Regions from separate parts of the Homo sapiens genome. Here region 2 is linked to region 1. The links are contacts of gene promoters, found by promoter capture Hi-C in blood cells and fetal thymus (Javierre and others, 2016). All regions are on one chromosome and are shown on one strand. Each heading gives the region's core, a stretch centred on a gene start or on the middle of the fragment in contact. The rest is flanking DNA. Distances are from core to core; before and after follow the strand shown. Region 1 holds the start of BMP1 (bone morphogenetic protein 1). Region 2 overlaps XPO7 (exportin 7).

Evidence for each region. The method cuts DNA at HindIII sites, captures the fragments that hold promoters and counts their contacts. A CHiCAGO score of 5 or more calls a contact.
Region 2: a contact is called between a fragment that was not itself captured here and the fragment with the promoter of BMP1 in region 1, in 2 of 17 cell types (naive CD4 T cells and fetal thymus). The highest score is 6.3, in naive CD4 T cells.

The regions. Positions count from the first base shown.
Region 1 is chr8:22,164,122-22,166,821 of GRCh38, reverse strand. It overlaps BMP1 (bone morphogenetic protein 1), which reads right to left and starts at 1,450. Exons shown (of 20, transcript NM_006129.5): 1 at 1,269-1,450. The coding sequence starts at 1,416. SFTPC (surfactant protein C) reads right to left here. Exons shown (of 6, transcript NM_001317778.2): 6 at 2,343-2,556. RefSeq lists a silencer at 1,155-2,194. The HindIII fragment of the contact is 3,783 bases long and covers 671-2,700 here.
Region 2 is chr8:21,923,152-21,925,971 of GRCh38, reverse strand. The region is part of intron 1 of XPO7 (exportin 7); the gene reads right to left. Among named protein-coding and RNA genes, the nearest start is that of XPO7, 4.9 kb to the right of the region's middle. The HindIII fragment of the contact is 4,070 bases long and covers 1-2,820 here.

The DNA of each region.
Region 1 (2,700 bases), core at 201-2,700:
ATGTCCTGGTTTACCCGCAGCCCAGCAGGTGTAGAGGGGTAAGGGCTGAGGGATTTGCCCTGATTTCCTCCATTGGATGGTCTCTTATTCCTGCCTGTGGGCCACCCTCCCAGGAGAGTCCCTGAACAGGGTCTCCAGAGCCAGGACTAGAGCAACCTGCCCCTCCGCCCCTGGTGCCCCACACAGGCAGTCCAGTTCTAGCAACTATGCCACTTCCCCTGGCTCTGGCTATTTGGAGATGAGCTGAAGTCAGAGAGGCAGGAAGTCAAGGAAAAGTTCTGATATCTTGTCCCTGTGTGTCCCCAAACAGCCTGCCCAGGGTCATCCAATCAGGCAAATGGCCCGAGTGCCTGGCCATCTGGTCACTCCAGGGGCAGGACCCTTCTGGGCTCAGCAGGAGTGATGGGGTTACATAGAGTCTTCAGAGACAAAGAACACACACACATACAGGCAAACACACACTCCGGGGTCCTGACCTCAGCTAATTAGCCTCTGGTGTCTCGGGGGTGACAGAGCTGATATACAATATCTGGGTTCTCTTTGTATTTTCCCTCTTTCCACCCCAACTTGGCCTTGGCGGGGGTCTCTGGGCACATAGGGACAAAGTTAAGTCCCCCTTCTGGGTTGGCTTCTCTGACTTTGACAGCTGTCTCCTAAGTCCCAGAAAGCTTCAGCTACTGGTTAAACTACGGGATACCCAGAGAGCACGATCTCAGGGAATCCCTGGAAAAACTTTCTTCTTCCACTTGGGCTGGGTGGTGGCTGGGGGACCTGCTCCTTGGAGACTCAGGCCTCCCAGATCCAAGCCAGACAGATGTGCAGCCCCAGGGCAGCCCAGACAGGCTGGAAAACACCCAGCTCCTGGAGCAGGAGAGATGGGGGAGAAGGGGAAAGAACACACACACACACACACACACACACACACACACACACACACACGCACGCACAGGAGTTTGGCCAGAAAAGTTTCCTACAGAAGGAAAAGCCGCCTTGCCCGCCGGTTTTCCCGGGACGCAAGGAGACTTCCTCTGGAATCCTCTGGGAAGATGAGAGGCAGCGGCAGCAGCTTCCACCAACAGCGGCAAAACTTCAGTCCGAAAAGTCCCCCAAATCCCCCTCCCTCTCCCCCTCGTTCTTTTGTTCCCCACTGCATTGCCAACCAGGCAGCTCCCGGCTTCCCACACTGGACTGTCCTCCCCCAACCCCAAGCCCGAACCCGCCCGCGCCTCCCCGCCTGGCCCGTCGCCGGGGGGCCGGGGGGCGCTCACCCGCCTTGCAGGGGTCTTTGTAGTTGAGGGGCTCCGAGTCGTCCTCCTCCGCCAGGTCATAGGTGTAGTCGGCCAAGTCCAGCGGCCGGCCGGGACGCGGGAGCAGCAGCAGCCCGAGCAGCAGCGGCAGGCGGGCCACGCCGGGCATGCTGGCGGGGCGGCGGCGAGGGAAGCGGCGCACTGGAGGCCAGGGGAGGGCGTCCTCTCGCCCGCTTGCTTGCTCGATCGCGACCGCGACCGCTCCCGCCCTCGCTCCCCGACCTCTTCCCCTTCCCTCTGCTCGCCTCCCTCCTTCCTGTCTCCCGCCCCCCGCTCGGTCCGCGGCTCCGCGCTCGTCCTCGGGCTCCAGCCGTCTCCCTCTCCCTTTCCTTCTTTTTCTCTCTTTCTTTCTCTCCCTCCCTCCCTCCCTCCGACTCCCCCCCCCCTTTTTAGGGAAATGAGCTCGCTGGAGGGCGGGTTTTCGCCCGAGCTCTGCCCCCCTCGGGGCCGGGACAGTGCTCGGCCGGGCCGGGCCGCGCGCCAGCCGGGGCGGGGAAGGCGGAGAGCCGCGCGCCCGGGGAGGGGGCTCGGGCCGCCCGGGCCGCGGGCCGCGGGCCGCGAGGCCGGGGCTGGAGCTCGGGCCCCGGGGTGCCGGGAGGGCTGTCCCTCCTGAAGTGCCCTCTAGCGGCGGCCTCCCCCGCGGGCGCGCGGCCGAGCCCCCGCCCCGCCGCGGGACACGCTGTCAGGTCCTCGCGCCGCCCCTGCCCCGCGCCCCCGCCTCGGGTCGGTCTCTCCGCCCGCGTCTCCCTATCTCCCCTTCTTGGACCCTCGCTCTCTCGCGTCTCGCTCTCTGCGCTCTGTCTCTCTCGCTGTCTTGGTGTCTCTCCCTCCTCCGGAGACGCCGCTGGAGGGCGCCGAAAGCCCGTGGATGGCTCCCTGCGAGCCCCTCTCCCCCGCCGAGGTGGACCCAGTGCCCCAGCGCCCTGGGACAGAGGGCGAATGGCAAACCCCACTTTGCTCTCCCAAGGCCCTTCCCTTCTTGGCCGGCCCCCGCCAGGGCAGGACTGCGCCCTGCAGGAAGACAGAAGCAGACCCTTTGCTTTTCAATCAGGCTGCTTTATTCTGTTGTGGCAGGAGTTCCCGGGCCCCTGGGCGCCACCTCTGCCCACTCCCATCCTCTCCCCAAGCTCCCATTTCTCCAGGGCTTGTCCCTGCGGTGTGGGCAGAAGCAGCTTCTTGCCCGTCTGCAAAAGCTGCAAAAGACCCTTTGCCCGGGGCGTTTCCTTTCCCGTTGGGGCTTCCACTGACCCTGTGAAGCAAAGGAATGTTGAGGATGGACAGAGAGAATCAGGGGAGTGGGAAGTACCGGTCTGTGAGCTTCCCCTCCCCCGAGTTGCCTGGATGACCCCGCTTCAGTGGACGCCCCAGCGCCTGGTCAGCGCGAGCGCTCCTC
Region 2 (2,820 bases), core at 208-2,707, 240 kb after region 1:
GAGAGCTCAATTTGTGAGAAGTGCTACAGATGACTAGATCTTACAGAAAAAAACTCTGGGAGTTTAAGAAATTAGGCGTAAAGAAGAGGAAGATATATTTAAGATAGATAAAATGGAAATGTTGGTTTGAGCATAAATATTTTAAGGAATTTTACAAACATGTACATATGAATTGAGAACACGGTGCTATATTGGGGAGAGAATACAAGGATGACAACTGGAAATCCCATCCAGAATGCTTGAAGTACAAGGGACTTCACAGATCACTTAATCCAGGCTCAGAGACCAAACGAGTTTCCCAATTAAATGGCATAACACTATAAAAGGCTTAGCATGGTGCCTGGCATATAACAGACACTCAGTTAATACTGGTATCCCCCTTTCCCTATGACCAACCAAGTCACACTCCAGTAAGTCTTACAATAACCACCACCATGAACATCATCTAAATCTTCCAACAGCGAGTTCTCCAGTCTTCCAGGGATACCAGGTCTTTTAATCAGCTTATTTCAAGGAAAATTCTATTACTATTATCTCTATACCGATGTTACATTGCTGCGGTGAGCATTAAATGATATCAATTAATGCTAGCATGAAGTTTCCAATTCTGCCTTCTCTTAAATACATCCTTCCCATTTTATGGCAGTAGGAGTGTGTGTGTGTCCTTGTGTGCATGCACACATGTGCGAAGGGGTGAACAGCCATTGAAGCAAATATCAGAAATACTTAGGATCTAGGTTTTTTACAACTCTCTCCCTCCCCCAAGATTTTGATATGCCTCCTGGGTACCAATCCCATTCCATTGAGAATTTCCTAGTAATGAGTCACTATAAATGTTAGGAATGAATGTATTCCAGACATGTATTGGAATGGGGGAAAAGATAACGGGGTAGTGACTGCCCCCCATTCAGGGACATGTCGACAAAACCAGTCTCACTACAAATTCACAACTCAATGACCAGGCTTGTTGTGATGCTCAATTCAATGTAAGGCCCTGGAAGTAGAATATCACATCTTGTATTTCCTTCTATGTGTCTGCACAGTAACAAAAATGGGATATTAGTAGATGCTTAAGTGGTCACCATTAATCATCCTCAAGAATTTATTTCAATATTTAAAAATTCAGCTTGCATGTAACTCTCCAGGAACATTTATCGTGGTCCTGAACTTGCTTTTCAAATAAGTCAAAAGAGAAATACTTGTAAATCAGTTTCTCAATAAAATGTTGTGAGCATTTTCATCTAAAAAGAAACATATATTTAAACTCTAGTTATCAAGGTTCATGAATGGCCTAAAATTGTGGGTAAAATTTTGTGTAGGCACACTCTCCCCACCCCCACCAGAGAGCAGTAACATAGCTTCCATCATATTATGAAATAAATCCCCCCAAAGCTGTATAATCACTGCTCTGTACTGCTTCTCCCCCTGGCTTTGAAGCTAAAACTCTCAGGTTACTCAGCTTGAGTTCTAAAAGCAGATTTAAAAATAAAATGACAGGATAGTAGTTAGTGGGGTGGGGGGGGGAGGGGGGCTACAGGTAGCTGTTGAGATGGTATCAGGGGACTTCTGGGGCACCGATAATACTGACTTGATTTGGGTGCTGGTTAGTAAGGAGTATTCACTTTGTGAAAATTCATCAAGCTGAACACATATGATTTCTGTACCTGTCTGCAGGTATATATTTCAATAAAAAGTTTTTGAAAAAAATAACAAAGATGGGTCACTTATACACAGCATATATCATTACAGAATTTAATGAAGTCCTTAAAAATGATGCACTAGGAGAGGCCCATTGGTAAAGAACTGCAGCCTCCAGACAACAGCCAGTGAGGAACTGAGGCCTGACCAGGCCCGCTGTGTGTAAACCTAAAGAAAATTCTCTATCCTCAAGTCAAGCCCTGAGATTGACTGCAGCCCGGAGCCCCAGCTGAGAGTTTGACTGCAAATGAGACCCTGAACCAAAACCATCTAGTTAAGCCACTCCCAGATTCCTAACCCTGAGAAAATGTGAGATAATGTTAGGTGTTTTAAAAAGATGCAGTTTCAAAACACTATCTTCCTTGCACATACTGAAGTGGGCAAAGTAGCCTCAGTAGTTGTACCTACAGAGAGACATTAGCTTATTGGTTTAAACTGGCAACTTTCCCACCTCGAAAGGCTGTGGTACAATATTGCTTTCAAAACCCAACCAAGAAAAAAGAAAATACAGCTGGTGGTTATGAACATCAATTTCTGGGTCAAATGGAAGCTAATTTCTCTGTAAGATATAGAACAGGGATCTTCCTGATACTTCTTTCTATACCTTCATCTAAATTAGAGATTCTTCCATCACTGTACTGTATTTTGTTTTTTCTGTGTTAAGTGTTTGAATGATCCCACACGTATATATACATCCCTTAATTTTTCTCAAGGCTTCTCAGGAAATATACTAAAGTCAGAGTAATCAAGTAAATATATAGATATATATGTTTTAAATACAGACATTTCCAGTGTGGTGTTGAATAGGAGTAAAATAATGAAATAAAATACACACATATTATTTGTATAAACCCACGAAAGAGGTATAATCAGGGTGGGAGTGGGTGATGGGATATAGTTATTGCTTATCACCCAACACAGATGTAGCATGTTTTGAAATCAATGTATTCTTTCTTGTATCTACGTGTGTGCTCCTGAAGCCTGCCAAAAGAGCATCAGAATTGGATATTTCAGCAGTCTGGCTCCAGTGTCTTTCTCATTCTGAATCCTCTGAAGTGCCCAGCACAGAAAGGGCCTTGCACACACTAAGCATTCTGGTATTAGTCGAACTGGAAAAAAGTT